6 separate regions of the Homo sapiens genome follow, and all the other regions are linked to region 1. Evidence: promoter capture Hi-C in human tissues and cell types (Jung and others, 2019). All regions are on one chromosome and are shown on one strand. Each heading gives the region's core, a stretch centred on a gene start or on the middle of the fragment in contact. The rest is flanking DNA. Distances are from core to core; before and after follow the strand shown. Region 1 holds the start of LGALS9 (galectin 9). Region 2 has its middle 61 kb from the start of KSR1. Region 3 has its middle 18 kb from the start of NOS2. Region 4 holds the start of KSR1 (kinase suppressor of ras 1). Region 5 overlaps KSR1 (kinase suppressor of ras 1). Region 6 overlaps KSR1 (kinase suppressor of ras 1).

The links. The method cuts DNA at HindIII sites, captures the fragments that hold promoters and counts their contacts. A contact is called where the count stands out against the background at its distance.
Region 2: a contact is called between a fragment that was not itself captured here and the fragment with the promoter of LGALS9 in region 1, in 3 of the 25 tissues and cell types used here (mesenchymal stem cells, mesendoderm cells and spleen).
Region 3: a contact is called between a fragment that was not itself captured here and the fragment with the promoter of LGALS9 in region 1, in 2 of the 25 tissues and cell types used here (lymphoblastoid cells and thymus).
Region 4: the fragment with the promoter of KSR1 here is called in contact with the fragment with the promoter of LGALS9 in region 1 in 2 of the 25 tissues and cell types used here (H1 embryonic stem cells and heart left ventricle).
Region 5: a contact is called between a fragment that was not itself captured here and the fragment with the promoter of LGALS9 in region 1, in 1 of the 25 tissues and cell types used here (spleen).
Region 6: a contact is called between a fragment that was not itself captured here and the fragment with the promoter of LGALS9 in region 1, in 4 of the 25 tissues and cell types used here (aorta, ovary, spleen and 1 more).

Annotation. Positions count from the first base shown.
Region 1 is chr17:27,629,538-27,632,897 of GRCh38, reverse strand. It overlaps LGALS9 (galectin 9), which reads right to left and starts at 1,710. Exons shown (of 11, transcript NM_009587.3): 1 at 1,594-1,710. The coding sequence starts at 1,632. RefSeq lists enhancers at 1,681-1,800, 1,268-2,085. The HindIII fragment of the contact is 14,549 bases long and covers 1-3,360 here.
Region 2 is chr17:27,393,786-27,397,145 of GRCh38, reverse strand. No RefSeq gene overlaps it. Among named protein-coding and RNA genes, the nearest start is that of KSR1, 61 kb to the left of the region's middle. The HindIII fragment of the contact is 3,243 bases long and covers 27-3,269 here.
Region 3 is chr17:27,817,142-27,820,501 of GRCh38, reverse strand. No RefSeq gene overlaps it. Among named protein-coding and RNA genes, the nearest start is that of NOS2, 18 kb to the right of the region's middle. RefSeq lists a promoter at 3,238-3,360. The HindIII fragment of the contact is 5,954 bases long and covers 1-3,360 here.
Region 4 is chr17:27,454,910-27,458,269 of GRCh38, reverse strand. It overlaps KSR1 (kinase suppressor of ras 1), which reads right to left and starts at 1,822. Exons shown (of 21, transcript NM_001394583.1): 1 at 1,396-1,822. The coding sequence starts at 1,626. RefSeq lists silencers at 963-1,012, 1,533-2,292 and an enhancer at 1,656-2,157. The HindIII fragment of the contact is 18,960 bases long and covers 1-3,360 here.
Region 5 is chr17:27,474,415-27,477,774 of GRCh38, reverse strand. All of the region lies in intron 1 of KSR1 (kinase suppressor of ras 1), which reads right to left. Among named protein-coding and RNA genes, the nearest start is that of KSR1, 20 kb to the right of the region's middle. RefSeq lists enhancers at 418-712, 1,861-2,374. The HindIII fragment of the contact is 6,136 bases long and covers 1-3,360 here.
Region 6 is chr17:27,491,696-27,495,055 of GRCh38, reverse strand. All of the region lies in intron 1 of KSR1 (kinase suppressor of ras 1), which reads right to left. Among named protein-coding and RNA genes, the nearest start is that of KSR1, 37 kb to the right of the region's middle. The HindIII fragment of the contact is 3,331 bases long and covers 100-3,360 here.

The sequences.
Region 1 (3,360 bases), core at 461-2,960:
TGTGGAGGAAGCGTGGCTCCGACTGCCAGATGGGTCACCAAGTGAGGCTTAATTGTCCCAACCCAGGGGAGCCCCCGTGGGGTAGAGGGGTACTCTGGACACCCATAGGGGCTGCACTGATCATCTTTCTTGTCTGGACTCCAAGGCCCTGTTTTAACTCTCTGATGTCCGTAGGATAATTTTCCTTCTGAATCCAAGGATTAGAAAGTAAAAACCAGTCACCAGAATAATAATATGTCAGAACCTGGAAGAAGCTCTGGGATCCCCTCTTTGACAGAAAACCAGAGACAGGGTGACATGCCCAAGGCAGCACCTGCTGACCCTAAGGCCCCCACCAGCGGCCTGTTCCAGCTTCCCCCAGCCCCCTCTGTGCAGGTCCTACCTCAGGGGCCTCCACAGGGTGGCTGAGGTGTCATTGGTGACAGCCAGGAGGAAACAGGCCTCCTTTCCCCATTCTTTCTCTCTGGAGTTTAGAAAGCAGAGCCGAGCTCTGCAGACCAGAACGTAGGCAGCCTCATTCTGGACTCAGTGTCACCAGGGGGCACTCAAGCCCGACCCTGGCCTCTGCTGAGGTGGGCCATGGCAGCTTCCCTCCCTCAGTACCCTGCCTCTGCCCACCCTCCCCACCCTGCCTCCCCACCCAGGAAGGACCCATCAGCCCACCCTCTCCAGCCCCTCGGGAAGCTCTTTGCCAAGGCGGGGTGAGATCCTATGACAGGAGCCGGCCCAGGACACAGTGACCCCTGAAGTCTCCTGGGCTCCTGGGGCTGCCACTCCCATCTGGAGGCATTTGGCAACTGGCCTCTGCCTCCCTGAGCCTCAGATTTTCCGTGTATGAAGGGGACTCATAAACCTCACAGGGTTTCAGCAAGGCACCTGCCGCCCTCTGACCCCACGCTGCAGGGACAGTCCTCACCCCCCTCTCACCTCTGAGACTGCCCCTCCACAGATGCCCTGAACATGCCCATGCCCAACCTTCAGAGCACAGACACCTCCTCGGGAGGTCTTCCCTGCTGCCCTCAGACACCCAATAACATGAAACACTCCCAAAGCACCTACAGTGTGTCAGGCACTGTTCAAACACACTAGATACACTACTTCCTTAATCCATATCCCAACCCTGGGAGTGGGGGGCTCAAGTATTATTCCCACTTCACAGATATGGAAACTGAGGCCCAGAGACCACCAGCCAGTAAATAGCTGGACCCAGGGAGGCCACCTTCACAGTAAGCACCCTTAACTACCATGCCGGGTAGCGTCCTTACTGTCCCAGAAGCGTGCTTGCTTCCTCTTTACATGAACCACCCCGCTCTACATGTCTTCCCCTGAGCACACAGGACAGGACAGGACAGGACAGCTCAGTCAACACTGTCAAAGCCATGACTCGTGGGAAGGAGCATCCCTCCAGGCATGAGTGAGCTCAGCACGGCACAGGTGTGCCAGGATGACCTCCTCTGATATTTCTGCCCTGCTTGTGTTCTCTTTGGGATGCCCCCACCCCCATCCCCTGCCACCCAGGAGTTGCTTCCTCAGAGCCCCAGAGCTGTGTCCCTCTGGCTGAGGCAGCCCTGTGCCCATAGCCCTGGAACTCACTGGACTCAGGTAGGGAGCCTGGGAACCGCTGAAGGCCATCTCTCCGCCGCCTCTGTGGCCACCGCTGCCTTTCACACCCACTAGGAAGTCCTTTGTAGAGGGAACGACTTAACAAAGAAATAGAAACCAAAGCAACTTGGCTGTTATTCAATGGGGAGGAGCCGGCAGCAAAAGGAAGTGGGTCCAGAGAGAGAAAGGTATGGTACTGGGTGGACTGGGGTGACACTCACAGAGGGAAGTAGGCACTCCCAGCCCCAGTGACCTTTCCCTCCTCCCTCTCCTGTGCTCAACCCAAGCCTGAAGCATATTTGGTTCATAGAGGTCTACAATGCTTGACCACACTGACATGACAGCAAGTTGCCAGATGACACTGCCCAGAAGTATGTGGCTGTGTGTCCTAAGCATGCTTGGCCACGGAGTCCAGAAAATAATGGGGCTGGGCATTGCCTGTGCACAGGGTGCTTGTGGGGAAGGGCGGCTTCAACCCATTTTACATACAGAGAAGCTGAGGCTCAGAGTCTAAGGGGCATGCCCCAGGTCACACAGCTAATTCGTGGCCGCCTGAACTTTATGAAGATTCTCAGACTCTTCAAAAAGTATTTCTCCTGTTTAAATTTATATTATTCATGTAAAAACATAATTATGTAGAGGGGAATATTTTGCAAGAAAAACACCATAATGAATATTTTTATTCTACAGTATGGGGTGCCCAGGAGCTTCTGATCCTCCCTCTCAATGAATCTCTCTTGATTCTCTTCTCCTTCTCTTCTCCATCCTTATTTTCTGCACTTTAGGATGAGGAGAGAAGTCTTGGACATGATAGAACATTTCAAGTGACATGGGGCTGGGAAGGAACATATGGCATGTGCAGGTCGTGGGGGAGGGAGCCATGAAATAAACTTACCTGAAGTCGACCAGGTCCCAGCGATGTGCTGGTGAGAAGGCCCAGAACTCAAGCTGGGTAGGGTAAGTGCTGGCAGGTAAGGGCTGTACGGGTGCGAGAGGATGGCAGGTGCCCCAGGGCCATACGTGAGTCTGCACCTCTCTTCCTTCCTGTGCTCCACCTAGATGCACTAGAATTTGCAGACTAATTCCTTTGAGATGCTCCAATAGACTGAGGCCATGTGTGCCATCTGCACTGTCCATCCCCATTATGTTCCTGGATCAAGTACCAGTTTAAGGAGTAGACAGTACAAGGGGAGCAGAAAGGAGAGAAAGGAAGGGAAATTCTTTGCGATCCTCTCGGACACCAGGGACAATTTCATCACGGCACATCATTTGTAGGCAATCACAAATTGATTGCGATACGCAACAACTGGAACTCTCATTCACAGCAGACTGGAGTGTAAAATAATCCAACTTAGAAAAATGGGCAGGGCGTGGTGGCTTATGCCTATAATACCAGCACTTTGAGAGGCTGAGGCAGGAGGATCACTTCAGCCCAGGAGCTTGAGACCAGCTCGGGAAAGGTTGGAAGACCCTGTCCCTACATATAATTTAACAAACAAATTAGCCAGGTGTGGTGGTGCACACCTGTGGTCTCAGCTACATGGGAGGCTGAGGTGGGAGGCTCACTTGACCCCAGGAGGTCAAGGCTGTAGTGAACCCTCATCACGCCACTGCACTCCAGCCTGGGTAATAGAGCAAGACTCTGTCTCAAAAAATTGAAAAATAAAAAATAAAAAGAAAAACTGCTTGGTGAGTTGTAATACAGTCAAATATCTACTTCTATGTTCTGGCTTTTCTACTTCTAAAAAATTACCCAAG
Region 2 (3,360 bases), core at 399-2,898, 240 kb after region 1:
GCTTGCTTGCAAGTTTCTCAAGAGGGAAAGCCTGTGGTTATACAGTGGTCTGACTGGTTCAGCACCACGTGGTTTGGAAGGGCTGGATCACAGGGGAAATGAGAGGCAGTGGAGAGGAAAGTGGAAAAGAGAATCCTAATTCTCCACATGTAACTTATGGTGCTAGGAAGCATATTCAATCTCTTGGATCTTCAGTTTCCTCATCTATAAAATTGAAGTAATAAGTATCTTTCTTCTAAGATGGTAGGGCAAATTGAATGAATAAGATACCATGAGCAAGCTTCTGGATCACTGGTTGTGTGCTGCAGAGGGCATTCTGGCCTTGTTGGAGGAGAGTTTGGCCCACAGCCCTCTTATCTGACTTGCGCCTCTGAGACTTAATATTCCCAGTCTCCACAAATACCAGGAGAGAGACACAGAGAAGCTGCACAGCTAGATTCCTGCTGAGGACCTGTCTTACTCTGTGCTGCTGTAACAAAATACCTGAGACTGGGTAAGTTATAAATAACAAAATTTATTTTTTCACTGTTTTGGAGGCTGGAAATACCAACATCAAGGCACCAACATTTGGTGTCTGGTGAGGGCCTTCTTGTTGTGCCCACACATGATGGATGCGGAAGGGCAAAAGGATCCCAACTAGTTCCCTCCAGCCCTTTTAAAGGACACTAATCCCATCCATGATGATGGAGCCCTCAATGGCCTAATCACCTCCTAAAGGCCTCACCTCTTATTACTGTTGCATTGGGAATTTAAGTTTTAACATGAATTTTGGAGGGGACACAAGCATTCAAATTATAGTAGGGCCCCAAAGAACCAGCCAGCTTCCAGGCCAGCTTGGCTCAGCCCTGTGGGGACTTTCTCAACACTTGCTTCTATTTTTGCCTCATCCTGCTCCATGTTTTGCTTCCCCTTCCCCTCTGCCCTCCTTGGCTCTGGCCGTGGGAAGCCAAATGCAGCCTAGGCAATGAGGGAGGCTAAAGGCTAGACAATATCACAAATGGGCCATTGCTGTTTCTGCTGTTGTTTCTTTACTCAGTCTAGGTGTTTGTTTTTTCACCATTATTATTTCATCTTCTAAGCCTATTCAGAGGCTACTAGAAGCAGCTGGAAAATCAGTTCTGGGAGACAGACTCTTAAAACAGGCATAATTTACCAGGAGAATTTATGTGTGAGATTCAGCCAAAAAGATTTCCATGTTCTACAAATGGATGTCTGTATGGGGAAAAAAATGAACCTTCACTCCACCTTACATCATACACATTTTTTTAAGAGACTGGGTCTTACTCTGTCCCCCAGCCTATAGTGCAGTGGCACAGTCATAGCTAATTATAGCCTAGAACTCCTGGGCTCAAGCAATCCTCAGTCTCCCAAGTACCTGAGACTACAAGAGTGCACCATGCCCAGCTAGTCTTTTTAAAAACTTTTGTAGAGACAGGGTCTTGCTATGTTGCCCAGGCTGGTCTCAAACTTCTGGCCTCAAGTCATCCTCCTGCCTCGGCCTCCTAAAGTGCTGAGATTACAGACATAAGCCACCATACCTGGCCTATATATAAAAATTAATTCAAGATGAATCACGGATCTACATGTAAAAGTAAAAACATACGGCTTCTAGAAGAAAACAGAGAATAACTTCTTGACTTTGGGGTAACCAATAATTTTCTTAGACAGGACACTAAAGCATTACCCATTAAAAAGAAAGGATAAATTTGTCATCATTGAAAATAAAACCTTCAAAAGACATAATTAGTGAGCAAAAAGACCCATCAATTTTTACTGGGAGATTGAGAGAAAATATTCACAGCGGTATATCTGACAGAGGACTCATATCCAGGACATATAGAGAACTCCCACAAATCCATAACAAGAAGACAGACAATCCACATTCAAAATGGGCAAAGGACTTAACCAGACATTTCTCAAAAGAAGATACATAAATGGCCAATAAACAGATGAAAATGTGCTTGACATCTTTAGTCATCGGGGAAAAGCAGATTAGAACCACAGTGAGTTGCACTTCATATCCTTGCACATGGCTAAAAGGAAGACTGACAATTTCGAGCGTTGGGTAGATGGAATACTGCTCTATGACAAAAGAAAGGAATTACAGCTAAATGTGATGACATGGATGACTCTCCAAAGCATTCCATGCTAAGTGAAAGAAATCTTATGCAAGAGGAGGTGGAGCAAGATGACCAAATAGAGAGTTCCACCAATCATCTTCCCCATAGGAACACCAAATTTGAACAACTATCCACACAAGAAAGCACCTTCATGAGAACCCGAAAAAAACTCTCAAAAAACTTGGTATAGAAGGAACATACCCCAACATAATAAAAGCCATATACGATTAAACTACTGCTGGTATCACACTAAATGGGGAAAATCTGAAAACCTTTCCTGAAAGATCGGGAACACGACAAAGATGCCCAATTTCACCACTATTATTCGATATAGCCAGTCCTAGCTAGAGCAATCAGACAAGAGAAAGAAATAAAGGGCATCCCAATTGGAAAGGAAGATTGACGAATACCCTTGTTTGCAGATGATATTTGGAAAAACCTAAAAGACTCCACAAAAACACGATTAGAACTGAAAAACAAATACAAATTCAGTAAAGTTGCAGGATACAAAAGTCATGTATCATATGCAACATACGAAAGTCAGTAGCATTTCTAGATGCCAACAAAAAACAATCTGAAAAAGAAATCAAGAAAGTGATTCCAATTATAATAGCTACAAATAAAATACCTAGGAATAAACTTAACCAAAGAAGTGAAAGATCGCTACAATGAAAACTTGAAACCGTTGATGCAAGAAATTGAAGAGGCCACAAAAAAATGGAAAGATATTCATGGATTGGAAGAATCAATATCTTTAAACTGTCTATACTGCCCAAAGAAATCTACGGATTGAATGCAATCCCTACCAAAATACCAATGACATTTTTCACAGAAATAGAAAAAACAATCCTAAAATTTATATGGAACTATAAAAGACCCTGAATACCCAAAGCTACCCTGAGCAAAAAGAACAAAACTGGATGAATCATGCTACCTGGCCTCAAATTATATTACAGAGCTATAGTAACCCAAAGAGCATAGTACTGGCATGAAAACAGATACATAGACCAGTGGAACAGAATAGAGAACCTGAAGACAAATCCATACACCTATAGTGAACCCATTTTTGACAAAGTTGCCAAGAACATACATTGGGAAAAGACAGTCTCTTCAATAAATGATTCTGGGAAAAGTGGATATCCATAGGCAGAAGAATGAAACTAGACCCCTATCTCTTGCCATATTAAAAAAATCAAATAAAAATGGATTAAAGACTTAACTCTAACATCTCAGACTATGA
Region 3 (3,360 bases), core at 617-3,116, 190 kb before region 1:
AGTAGGCTACAGTTTGGCCTGTGGGTCACAGTTCACCAATCTCTGCTGTACAATATTTTGTTATAAATAATCATGAATATACGACATGGAAGAATGAGTTATGATGAGAATTAGAAATAATTATGAATAAAGCACTATGTATTCAGTTACCCATTCTCCTGTTATGGGTATCTGGGTTATTTCCAGTCTGGGATGCAATGATTAGTGCTGCACTGTGTTTGGTGAACATATTATGCACACATTTTGTGCTATTGTCTTAGTAGTTACTGCCAAGCAGTTTCTCAAAGCAGTGGTACCAAAGCACACTCCACTAGTAAAGTTGCTTCACATTCTCAAGAACACTTGATACAGTCAAATTCTTTAGCTATAGCCATTTAGGTAGGTGCATCGTGGTATCTCATTGCAGATTTTAATCTGCATTTTCCTCAAGATGAATGATGTTGAGCACCTTTTCAAATGCTTGTTGGTCACTTGGATATTCTCCTTTGTGAAGTAAGAATTTTCTAGTATTTCTAAACATTGAATTATTTGTCGTTTTCTTGTCTTTTTCTTGTTGATTTATAGAAGTTTGATATATATTTTGGACACAAATGCTTTGTTAGATATCAGTCCACAGTTTGCCTTTTCACTTTTTTTTTTTTTTTTTTTTAAGACAGGAGACAGAGTCTTGCTCTGTTGCCAAGGCTGCAATACAGTGGCATGATCTTGGCTCAGCTCACTGCAACCTCAGCCTCCTGGGCTCAAGTGATCCTCCCATCTAAGCCTCCCAAGTAGCTGGGACTACAGGCATCCACCACCATGCTTGGTTATTATTACTTTTTTTTTTTGTAGAGATGTTGTCTCACCATGTTGCCCAGGCTGGTCTCGACCTCCCGGGCTCAAGCAACCCTCTTGCCTCAGCCTCCCAAAGTGCTAGGATTATAGGTGTGAGCCCCACACCTGGCCACTTTCTTAATAATATCTTTTAATGAAGGATGGTTTTTAATTTTAATGAGGTCCAATTTAACAATCTCTTCTTTATGGTTAGTGCTTTTTGTGTTCTGTTTAAGAAATCTTTGCCTGCCCAAAGGTCATGAAGATATTCTCCTGTTTTCCTCTAGAAGCTTTATTGCTTTACTTTTCACATCTAGGTTTATGATCTGTCTTAATTCCTTTTTCTGTTTGATTTGAGGTAGGAGTCAATGTTCATTATAGTTCATATAAAAATCCAATTGTTCCAGTACCATTTAGTGAAAAGACTATCTCTCCCCCATACATAGTGATAGGAAGGCTGCATTTAATGTCGAGCTCTAGTCTTTAAATGGAATCTGAACACCTGTAGTGTTTTCAAAGTCTCTAGACTATGGGTCAGGAGGAAGAAATGAAGGGGAGTGGGTCTAGATGCTCTAGGCATCTAGCGTCATCTGGCGTCATCAGCTCTAAAATGAAGGGCATCCAGGGAAAGGAGGTTGATTCTTTCCATCTGTGGAGTTCTCTGACTTTGTAACACAGAGTATCCATTAGGCCTCAATTTTTCAGCTGTTGCTGGAAAAACCAGAGATTTCCAAGAAGCTACCCTTGGGAAAAAGAACCCAGCTTTGCATTTTAAAATGTTTTCATTACTCTTCATATCGCTCAAGCCAAATTTTGCTTCCGGAGGAAAACAGGCTCTAAACCATGAAAGACTAAGTAAGCCAGTGCTAGCAGCAGCAGTAACTGGGGAAAGTCCTGTGTATTTCAAGACCAAGAACTGTTTATTTCTGTCAGTGAAAGAGAAAGGGTGACCTGGCTCAGGTTTTGAAGACATCAGACTGTGGGCTAATATTTTCCAGACAGATGACTACTGTCCAGTGCTTTCCTGGACCACTCCCCAGGGCCTGCTCTCTGGCTACGTGAGCCTGGGCAGCCACTCTGCATCTGCAAAAGGCAAAAAAGCAGCTTTTGTGTACATCACACTGATTTCTGGCACTGGATGTTGGTTTTTTTCCCCCACCATTTCCAGAGTGGGAACAACTTGTGTGGGTTTGGACTTGGCTGATGGGCACCGAGCCAGGGAGTGGGTGTGGAGGTAGGGCCTTGGCCCTCAGGTTGATGCTGGAGGAGTATTTCATTCCCTGACTCGGGGTTTATTCCTGAACACCCGGAGTCTGTGGGGAAGCTGCGCCTGGGAATAAGGCACCTTCGGATCTGTGGGCTGTACTATCCCGGGATTATCCTTGGAGTCTGCTCTCTTTGGAAAGCAATAGTAATTGCAATTAACAAAAATTTCTTCTCTGCCTTATTAATCAATGCATTTGTCCAACAGATATTTATTGAGGCAGGCACTATGCATAGCACTTATACATCCATAAGCAAAACAGACAAAAATCCCTGCTTTTGTGGGGCCTTCATTCTAGTGAGGAGAAACAATGAACAAATAGTAAGTAAATGATGTAAGGTGTGAGGTTGAGCTCTGGGGGAGATGCACAGAGCAAGGTGGGGGGGTCAGGAGGGTTGGGGGAAGGAGGGCTGTCATTTTAAATAGGGGTGGCAAGGCTGGCCTCAGTGAGGAGGTGACACATGAGCAAAGACTGGAAGTGCAGGGAAGTGAGTCATGTGTTATCTGGAGGAAAAGTTGTCCATGCAAAGGAAACCTCTGTGGAGGTCTCAAGGCTTTGTCTCACCCCAAGATTAGGCAAATTCTAAATCTGAAGCTTAAAGGAGTAAAGAAGAAACTCCCTCCTTCCTTCTGCACATATTGATTGAGTGCCTGCCACATACCAAACACTGTCACACTCTGTGGTTCTCCTCGAACAGAGAAACAAAGGACGGAGGACTCTCCAGGCCTCTCAAAACAGAATTTGGACATCTTCAGAAATGCCCCCAGTGTGGCAGGCCAGATAGGAATTTAGTGATAGATTAAGTCTCTCTCTAATATTAGAACCTCATAGATATCCCTGAAATGAAATGAAATTGTAATGTGTTCACTCCAACTATTTTTATTTCATCTCAACTAACCCCTATCTTCTGAGGTTTTGATGGGCATTTTAATTAAATCATGAAGAGCCCTTTGTCTCCCGAGAAGGGGGATTGAAGCCTCTCCATCCCTCCGCCTCTCTCCTACCCTGAGTGCTAAGGAATGTGCCTTGTTCTCAGCAGGGTGTTGGGGTGGCAGGACCCAGTTCTGGACACAGCCTTCACCCCAAATCCTACTCCCAAGATCAGAAGGAATCTTCCCAGGAGAGAAAGCAGCAGCCACTCCCAGATGGAGCAGCTGCTGGATCCTGGGTACTTGATAAACATCACTGAAAACAACTTGCCCCCATCCTGTGTGTCTATGCATCCTCTCTGCCCTGGCCTGTTGTAAGCAGCTGTGAACCTTCCCATCATTACACTTCAACT
Region 4 (3,360 bases), core at 573-3,072, 170 kb after region 1:
CTCAGCTGTGTTCAAAAAATCAGTTTCTCTCAATACTTGGAAAACTGCAGCATGCATGCAGAAAGGCCAGTTGTAGGGGGTTTTGTTTGTTTTTTAAGCAAAGCCTTGGTCAGTACAGCTTTAGCCAACTGTAATAAAAAATAATAATACCCAGCACTGACTGTATTCTTCCAATGTCCTGTGGTTTTATAGCTTTTAAGAAAATAAAACTGAGGGAGAGTCACCCCCGAGCATTTGGAATCAAACAAGGATTCGGCTTTGTGGCATGCCTGGAGGAAGGATTGGTCTTGTAATAATTACCGCGATCACAGAGGGCCTTATGACAGCTGGCAGAGGCAATTAGCAATAAGGGGCGGGGGGAGGGTTTGGGGGAGGAGAAATTGAGGATCTAATAAAACAAAACATCCCCAGACCTGCAGGAGGCCAGATGTGGCAGGGCAAGATGGTGAGAGGTTCCTTCTTCAAGACGGGGCAGCTATTAACTGGTCTGACGTTTCACCGCCCCGTCCCTGGCCAAAATCACATTCAGAATCCACTAGTTGCCCTCATTTGTGTATGGACAGGGTGCCCCAACAACCCTCGGGCTGGTTTTTCCAAATCCTTCAGATACTTCCCCAGCTATAATTTGAGAGAGGAAGGCCCGCATATCTTATTTCTTCTTTACACTCCAGACTGTCTCCATCAGAACCCTTTAAACAGTTTCATCTTCCCACCAAAGGCTTGCTTCCCAGCATAATCCTTCCTAAGCCTAAATCCAATCTTTGGGGGGAAGCAGGGGGAGTCAGCGGGTAATTATTAATACATTTTAAGCAGCGAGCCTCCGTGGCAACGTGAAAGGAAAGCACCAAACGCCTGAATAACAAAAATGCAGTTTCAGCAACACTTTTTGAAAAGGCGGCAGACAAGACCTGAGAGGAGAGGAAAGGAAGGGACAGGACGGCGTCTGGGGCGTGAGGGGAACAGGGGACGGCAGGCCTGCGATCACGCTTCAGGGGAACCTCCTCCGTCACCCTGGCCCACGGGTGCTCGGCTCAGTCACACGGGGAAAAGTCCAGCTTGTGACTCGGTGGGACAACGAGTCCTGCGGCCCCGCAAACTGGAAATGGGGTGGGGGCGGAGAAGGGGGGAAAGGGGATGTCCGCGCGCAGCCCACCCCGCACGGGCCCCTCGAGCCTCCATCCCAGTTCCCACGACGCACCCGCCCCACAAATCCTGCCCAAGATGAGGGCTGGTCCCGGGTCCTCCGGCTGCCGCATCAGCGAGTGCAGGAGGGAGGGGAAGCCTCCAAGGGGGGCGACGCGGGCTCAAGGATGCAACTCGGCCAGGAGTACTGGGGCCCGGAGGGAGGTGTCCGGGCCCGCTCCTCGAGCCCAGCCTGGTCCCCGACCCACTTACCTCCAGGGTCCGTATCTCCTGCTGGGTGAGGTCGTTGGACACAGCGCACTTGGTGCGCAGCCCGCGCAGGCTGCCGATGGAGATGTCGATGAGCTTCTGGAGCTGCCCGCACTGCTGCAGCGCCCGGCTGGCCGCGGCCCCTGCGCCTCCCTCCGCGGCCGCCGCATCCCCCCCGCCACCGCCCTCCTTCTTCTCTCCCATCGCCGCCGCGCGCAGCGCTGCTCTATCCATGCCTCGGCATCGGGGCCGCGGCGGCCGAGGCTGGGAGCCCGGGGCGCGGGCGCCTCGGCAAGGAACCCCCGAGCCAGGAGAGCTGGACCAGGAGCGCCCCTCGGCGCTGCCCGAGCCGGGACGCCGGTAGAGCCGGCCGCTGAGTCTGCCGCTTCCACCCTCCCAGCCGCGGCAGCAAAGCGAAAGCCGCGGCGACCCGACGGCTGCGGCTCCCGGAGCCTTTAAGCGGCGGCGGGGGCTGGGTCAGGGCGGCCGGGCATGCTGGGACTTGTAGTCCACGCCGCGCACCTGCCGCCGGCCTCCGCCCTCGGGGCCCCGGACCGCGCCCGCGCCGCCCTCCCTGCCCTCCTCTCCCCTCCCCTCCCGGCGGCCGCGGCGAGGCAGGCGGTGAGGGCCGGCCCCAACCGGGAGCCCCGGGTGGAGCTGCTCCGCGCCAGCTCCTCCCCCAGGCGCCGAGAGTCGGGGGAGCAGCGTCTCCCCGTCCGCCTCCGTCCCCCACCCGGCCTAGGAGCTTCCCGCGACCCCCGGATGGGGCGGCGCCCCCTGGACGCCCGGCGGGTGTGCGTCCCGCAGTTCCTCAGCTGCAGCCCAGCCCTGGAAGATGGGGACCAGGGAGGTTCCAGGATTTGTATGTGGGTTTAGGGGCTGCCATCTAGTGGGAAGGGGCTTACAGCACTTCTGTAGCTGGCTCACAAAGCGCTCTACTCTGGACTGCCTGCGCCAAAACGATTGCTCAGGCTTGGAGAAAGACGAAGAGCTTTCTTCTGAACCACATTTACCTGCCAAAATAAGTGTCCCATTCCCCCGCCATTCCCAGCCCACCAAGCCAGCCCAGACACGGGGGACAGCACACTGAATTGTCGGTGGCTTCGGAGCAAGTGGCCAGGATTCAAATTCTGACTCCACCACGGTCTAGGGTGAGACTTTGGGCACGTTCGATTTCCAGTGAATGCCCGACTCTCCTCATCAAATAACTCTTTAATAGGGTTCCTATGAAGAATCAGTTAATACATGTACAGCACCTAGATTGATTACTGGCACATGTGGTCGCTGGATAAATGTTAGCAATTCTTACTATCTAACCTCAGATCTGAATGTGGCCCTGGACCCAGGTAGTGGCCATGGAGCAGTACAGTACTGCCAAGGACTGGTAGTCCTTTGTCCTCTGTGCATTTCTGTGCCTCCTAACCCAGCAATCAAGCCTTGCCCATCTGTTCACCCTCCTCTCCCATTAGTTCACCCCATGCGTTCTATTATCTGGCAAAACTGAAAAACCAAGTCTCTGATCAAAGCTCCCACACCTTCATGCTTTCGACATCTGTCAACCAGAAAAAATGTCTCCCCTCTCAATTTTCTCTTGTAAGCTGCTTGATTGCAGAAGCCACTAGCTATTGTACCCTCTTTATAGTGCCAGATACAGTGCATGGCACACAAGAAAGGCTCCAGCGTGCCTCAGGAGCTCTTTCAGCAGGTCCTATGGGATGTTTCTTTTACCTCTCAGGCCAGCCGAGGGTGTGTGTGTGTGTGTAGATAGACAGTTGTTTTTTTGGTTTTGTTTTTGTGTTTGAGGATGAGAATTGGACAGGAGGTGGGATCCAAACCTTGTAGACACTAAAACAATCAATAATGGATGGCAGTTTGTATTACACCTTCCTTTAATGTTTATATTACACCAGCCTTCGAAATAAATTAAGGGCTGGGCACCGTGGCTCATGCCTGTAATGCCAGCACTTT
Region 5 (3,360 bases), core at 293-2,792, 150 kb after region 1:
CACTACTGCACTCCAGCCTGGGTGACAGAGTGAGACCCTGTCTCAAAAAAAAAAAAAAGAAGAGAACAGGGAACTTCCCCTGAAGCATCTGGCGTAGAAGTGGAGGGGCTATGATGGCATTCTGGGAGGGATGGGCCGGAAGTGGAGCAGGAGGCAGACAGGGGTCTATACATCACCGTTTTCCCTATGTAGACAGATTTTTAACTTGTACCACCCCACAGTCCAGTGAGCTGTGACAAAGAAACTGCAAAGGTATGGGCTTGGTCATCAGCCAGACTACAATTCTAATCTCAGCCTGTCACCACTGGTGTGCCCTCAAGAGTCTAACTCACCTCTCTGGGCTTCAGTTCCCTGTATAATAGGAGGTAAGAACGAAACTCTGGTGTTTCCAGGGCAGCTAGAGGTGTCAGAGGCATGTGAACCAGAGCAACTCCGTCTTAAACAGGAGCTGGGTTAAATAAGGCTGAGAGCTAACAGGCTGCATTCCCAGATGGTTAGGCACTTTAAGTCACAGGATGAGACAGGAGGTCAGCACAAAACACAGGTCATAACGACCTTGCTGATAAAACAGGTTGCAGCAAAGAAGCCAGCTAAAACCCACCAAAACCAAAATGGCCACAAGAGTGACCTCTGGTTGTTCTCACTGCTACACTCCCACCAGCGCCATGACACTTTACATATACCATGGCAATGTCAAGAAGTTACCCTGTATGGTCTGAAAAGGTGAGGCATGAATAATCTACCCTTTATTTAGCATATCACCAAGAAATAACCATAAAAATGGGCAACCAGCAGCCCTCAGGGCTGCTCTGTCTGTGGAGCATCCAGTCTTTTATTCCTTTACATTCCTAATAAACTTGCTTTCACTTTACTCTATGGACTTGCCCTGAATTCTTTCTTGCATGAGATCCAAGAACCCTGTCCTGGGGTCTGGATCGGGACCCCTTTCCTGTCATGGAGGGGACTGGTGGGGTACAGTATTCCCAGTGCTATCTGAGAGCCCAGAACATAGACAGCAGGCCTTACATGTGTGCTGCAGTTACAAATGTCCTCATCGCCACCACCCTCATCCAAACAGCCAGAGGGCTTTTCTCAGAGTGGGGGCAGTGGGACCATCTGTGGCTGTCTAACATTTCAGTCCTTCTGAGTCAACCATGGGCTTCCCAGGGCACATCACGGGCAATGTGGACCCTGTGAGTGTTGGGCACCCAGGAGATGAGCCCACAGCTGCGGTCTCCTTCCTGGGGCAACCTCTCATACCAACGGCACCACAGTCAAACAGGCAGGGGCGCTCCCTGAGAAGATGGGATCACAGCTCACCGGCAGCGCCCCAGCACTGCTCAAGTCCCAGCAGCCAAGACTCAGGGAGCCCTTTTGGTGCCAAGCCAGCTCTACCCCTGAGTTCTCTACCCTCAGGAGGGGGTGGCAACTCTGGAAACTTCCCTGTTTCTCAGCAGAATCTGGGACTGGCTCAACAAGCGCCCTGCAGAGAACCTGGAGGACCAACTCTCCGTTTTATTCCAGAAAGTTTGAATTTTGCACCACTTCATTAGCCTTCAATCCTTGAGCGCTGAGAAGGGGTGGGGGCTCAAGAATCGCTCACTGAGCATGGTCCCCCCGGGGCAGGAGCCGTGCAGTCCAGTCCACTGCTCTACCCAAGCACCTTCTCAGAGCCTGATAGCTAGGAGGTGCTCAAATATTCATTACTTTAATAAATGAAGGAATGCAATTATAGCAATAATAAAGGAATTTTTGCAAAAGAAAAACAGTCCCACCACAAATAACTCATTTCAATTTCACCTCTAGTTTTCCCCATATGCATACATATCATCACATATTTACAGGACTACAAATGCCACATACATGCAATCTTAAATACTGTGTATTTTTCCTCGATGTAACAGTATGAATATGCTCATGTTCTTACCCAGCCTCTGTCACTGACATCTGTGTGTGTGATGACCCACCCATCGCATGCTGTGCCATGGTCTGCCAAACCTCCCCTTACCACTGGACAGCTACCTTATTTTCATTTTTTTCTGTATTATGGATAATGCAAATAGCCTCATACATTCTGTTTTGCTTTTCTATTGCATTCTTGCCTCAGGAGGAACACCCCTGTAAGGATGGGGTGGACGGAAGGGCATCGCTGTCCCCGTGTCATAGATGAAGAGAGTAATACCGGGCAGGTGCCAGCATGATCTCCTGCCGTGGGAGCTCTGTAAAAGCTGCTGGATGAATAAACATGGCTCACCCACCTGACGCCCTCAGTGAGTGGCAGAGCCTCAGCCTGCCCCGGGCCAGCGCTCTGTCACCTGCCCACGCAGTCAGAAAGTGACTTTCTGTAAGTCAGTAGGTTAGTGTGCCAGCCCCAAAACTCCATTTTTTAGTAAGACATAAGTTTCAAAATCACCTGTGGATCCTACAGGATGGAGGCAGAGCCCACATAAACACAGCACCTCTCACCACCTTCTCTTCTCATTACTCTTCCCTCCTTCACACCTGTGCTCAGAGACCCGTGAGTGCAGTGGGTACTGGAAAGCAAGCACCTCCCTAAATGTCATGCCCAGGGCCCCTTGTGGCCTCACCCCTGGCCCCAGGGTTTTCCAACAACCCTGGTTCACTCCCCTTTGGCTTCCACATGAGCTCAGCTTCCAAAGCTCTTTTCCAGCTGTATCCCCATGGAGCCCTTCTCTACCCTTTTGAGGTCTTTACTCAAATATCACCTCCTCTGCAAACCCATCCTGACCCCTCACTTTAAATTATACCACCATCTAGGCACCCCTCCCTGCTTTCATTTTCTCCACAGCACTTTTACCACTTAACAGATAACACATTTTCCTTAGTGTGTGTGTGGTATTTTTAGGGATGGGAATCTTGCTATGTTGCCCAGGCTGGTCTTGAACTCTGGCTCAGGTGATCCTTCTGCCCCAGCCTCCCAAGTAACTGGGATTCCAGGTGATATTTACTTGTCATCTGAATGTCTCCTCCCAACACTGAAGCGTAAGTTCCACAAGGTCTACATTTGTGTCCATTTTGTTCACTGCTATTTTCCCCAGAGCTAAGAATAGTGCCCAGTCCCTAATGGGTGCTAATTAAACACTTGTCGATAAAATAAATAGTAATATTATAATATAAAAATATTCTCATTCTGCACAAGGCATTGTGCTTTTCCATGGCTCATCTTACTTACTATGAAAAACGACCCCATTATAATCCCCATTTCACAGATGAGGAAACTATTGCTCAGAAAGGGTAAGCAACTTGCCCAAAGACACACAGCTAGCCAGAAAGGCAGTGCAGCCTGAATCCAGGCTGTCAACCACCAGAACCTGTGCTCTTACACAGCATGAGGTGCTG
Region 6 (3,360 bases), core at 516-3,015, 140 kb after region 1:
GAAGCAGAGCCCTGCCCAGCCGCCCGGCTTACCAGCTGTGCCCACCTGGAACCCGCACTGCCCGGGAGCCCCTTCCCTCTGCCTCTCCAGTCACTGAATGGGAGCAGGATCACCTGGGGCACTTGCTTATGGGCTGAGCCCAGGGACACTGACAGGGCCGCCTCCCAGGCACAGGGAGCCACCCAGCAGGCCACACTGAGTCAGCGGCCAGGGTCCAAAATTTGCTTCCTGGAGAACTTGGAAGGGACACCGCCCAATGGCACTCTCAGAGAAGCTTTCATTCTCACGACGTCAATGCTGAGAGGACTGCCAGGCTGATTGGGAAACAGCTCCATCAAGATTTTTTGTCTAGTTGGTTTTTAAACTGCACAAATGCCAGAAATCTCCTTCCTGCTCTCTACTGCTTTTAAATGTAAATCGAAAGACCTGTTCGTACTTGTCCCCGGAATCCCTAATATCGGTCCCTCTATTAGTCTCTGGGGAAACATTAACTCTGTTGAAGTCGAGGCAGAGGGGGCTGACACCCTGGGTCCATTTAAGGCACTGACCAGGCACGTGACCCTGGGTAAATCTGCCCCTTTCACTGGCTCTTTAAATGCAGCGGAAAAATACATTCTAGTTAATCTCACTCAGAGGCAAGCTTCCCAGTTACTGCCACCTGCTGTTCCCTTCCTTCCTTCCCACAGGCCTGAATGCTCACCTGCTTGGACTGCAAGACAAAACTGCACTTTACACATCTCTAATCTGGGTGCTTGCCCGCCTCTCCAGGAATAATTCCAGATACTCCACATATAGAATTACGCAACCACACGGCATTTCTCCTGCAAATTTCAAGTCTTTAAGGGCCATAAAAAAAATCATCTCCACTTTTTGTTCCTGGAAGCTCTTTGTAATTTTTTTTTTTAACCTGCTGTCAGACAGCGGAGTGGGAGAAGGAGACTTCTTCTGAATTCACAGAGACTCCCCAAGCATTTCTGGGCCTCTGCTCCAAACCACTGTGGACATGAAAGGCGGACATTGATGACAGCTGCTACAAACCACCTCAGCGTCCCCAAGTTTCTCTCTGGCCAGAGAGAGGAAGAAGTGGTGGAAAGTCCAGCCAATCACACCACAAAATGGGAGCCTCAGGTGCCTCAAATTAAAGGGAGTAAATTCAACAGCTAAACCTCCAAGGCTGAGGCAGAGGTTGTTTTGCTTTTTAAATTTTTCCCAGCAGCAGGCAAAAATCTCCAGCTCTGCTACTGAATATAACCAGTGCAATTTCCAATGGTCTCACGACCCCATTATTTCCTTTTCAGTGCCCCTCCCTCTCCACCATACCCCATAATTACAGAGAGTTTAGGGCTGGGCTTTTTCATGATGCTGCTTCTTTACACTCACGACAACACAGAAGGAAAGGTTATTTAAATCTGAGTTGGAAGGGTAAAATCAGCATTGTTAAAAGGGCAGATTAAGAACACATTTCCCTGGGTTTTAGGTAATTCAAGGTCACTTGCAATAAGCAAGACAGAAATGGAATCATCAGGCACACATGGGCAGTGGGGTCTACCGAGCACCACGGGGCAGGGTCACACAGGCCATAAACATTATACGGAGCTGATCGTTAATGTCTCTGACTTAAAAAATCTGCCCTGTTAAAGAATTCAAGGGCATGATTTCCTGCCTGACCCCGGTGTTTCACAGCCTTTGCCTCAGAATTGGAGCCCTTCCTGGTCCTCCAAAGCCCTCTCTGTCCTGAAAAGCAAGCTTACATTAATAACTAAGACTGAGGACTCCAGCTTCAGCATTTACTAACTGGGTGACCTTGGGAACATCATTCAACTTCACAAAGCCTCACTTTCTTCATTTATATGTATAAAGTGTGGATAATAATAGTCCCTTATTGCTTCATAGGGTTTCACGAGGATTAAAGGAGACTGGGGTTATCATGTACCTCACATAGTAAATTGCTCCATAAATGATCATCATCAGCAGAATGATGAAGGAACACACACTGCTTTGGGAAAGGCTGGCAATCCCAGTGCCAATGCTTTCTATGAAGTGGCATCTATAAAGTAAGATCATTCCCATTTCCCTCCCCGCATGGAATATATTTCCAGCAAAGACAAAAAGTAAGGCTGGGAATGCCAAGTACTAAGTGTATAACACCATTTAATGAGCACCTACCATGTGCCAGGAATTCAACCATGTTTTCACAAATCCTCATTACCCTGCAAGACAAATCCTGTTAGCCCCATTTTGTACATGGGGAACTCGGGCTCAAAATAAGTCCCACCTCCTCCCTATTCCAAGCCAACATCTATGGGCAGACAAGAGACAAGTCAACATCCACAGGTCTGCTTGGTGGCCAGCATGAAGGGATGGATGCCTCGAATTCCGGGGCTTTATCTAACTCATGGCTGCCTCCCTGCAAACAGCAAGTAGGGGCATATTACTCACAGAACATTCTAGAGCTGTGGAAGTCCACAGGACTCACCTCTTTTGATCCCCTGAGTTGGGAATGTTAGAAACTCAGCCCAAGCAAGGGAAGGGAAGCAGCTTGTCCAAGGTCACATGGCAGCTCAGACACAGAGCTGACATTTGGGCTCAGGTCTATTGACTCTCGAGGAAGATCTTGCCTATGGATGCCTGATCATTCCTAGAAAGGAATTCACGGGCACAAGAAACGAGCAGGTGTAACTTTGAACAGACCCAGTTTCAGAGCTCTGCAAAGGTGAGTTGAGGAGACTCCTGCCTTCCTCCCTCCCAAGTCTGACGGGAAAGCAAGGTCAACATGTGCTGGGTGGGCTGCCTCCAGCTTTGCTCACCCCTGAACCACAGCCTCTAAATGAACAGTGTTTAAAATTACTTTCCTAGAGCCTTCATGAATTTCTATTTTGAAGCCACCCACTCGTATCTGCTACACACACTCTCCTCGTCTCCTCCCTCCTCCCACCTCCCAACGTGCAACTAATCTGCTTGTCAGTACCGTCTGTCTCCAGCAAAGGCGTCCCATCAGGTGACTGACCCCTGTAAGTAATTAAAGAATGATCCCACAGCCTTGGTGGAGGCCGACGGAGAGAAGGGTGACTGGTTAAATTAGACATGGGAGGGAGGCAGGCGCTGCTCACAGCCTACCAACTGCTCCCTTAACAGATGGTGAGCAGAGTATAGCAGGAGTGTAGCCCTGGAGCCAGCCTGTGAGGGCAAAAACAAGGCAGGAGCAAGGGGCCTCCCAGCAGACTAACTTCAGTCGGAGCCCCTGAGCTCTCCTGCTGCACACACTAAACAGCCGGCCACTTCCCCACACAGACCTGGGCGACCCTGGGCAAATCCACCGCCCCCTTGTGAGTCATTTTCTCACCTCTATGATGACCAGCA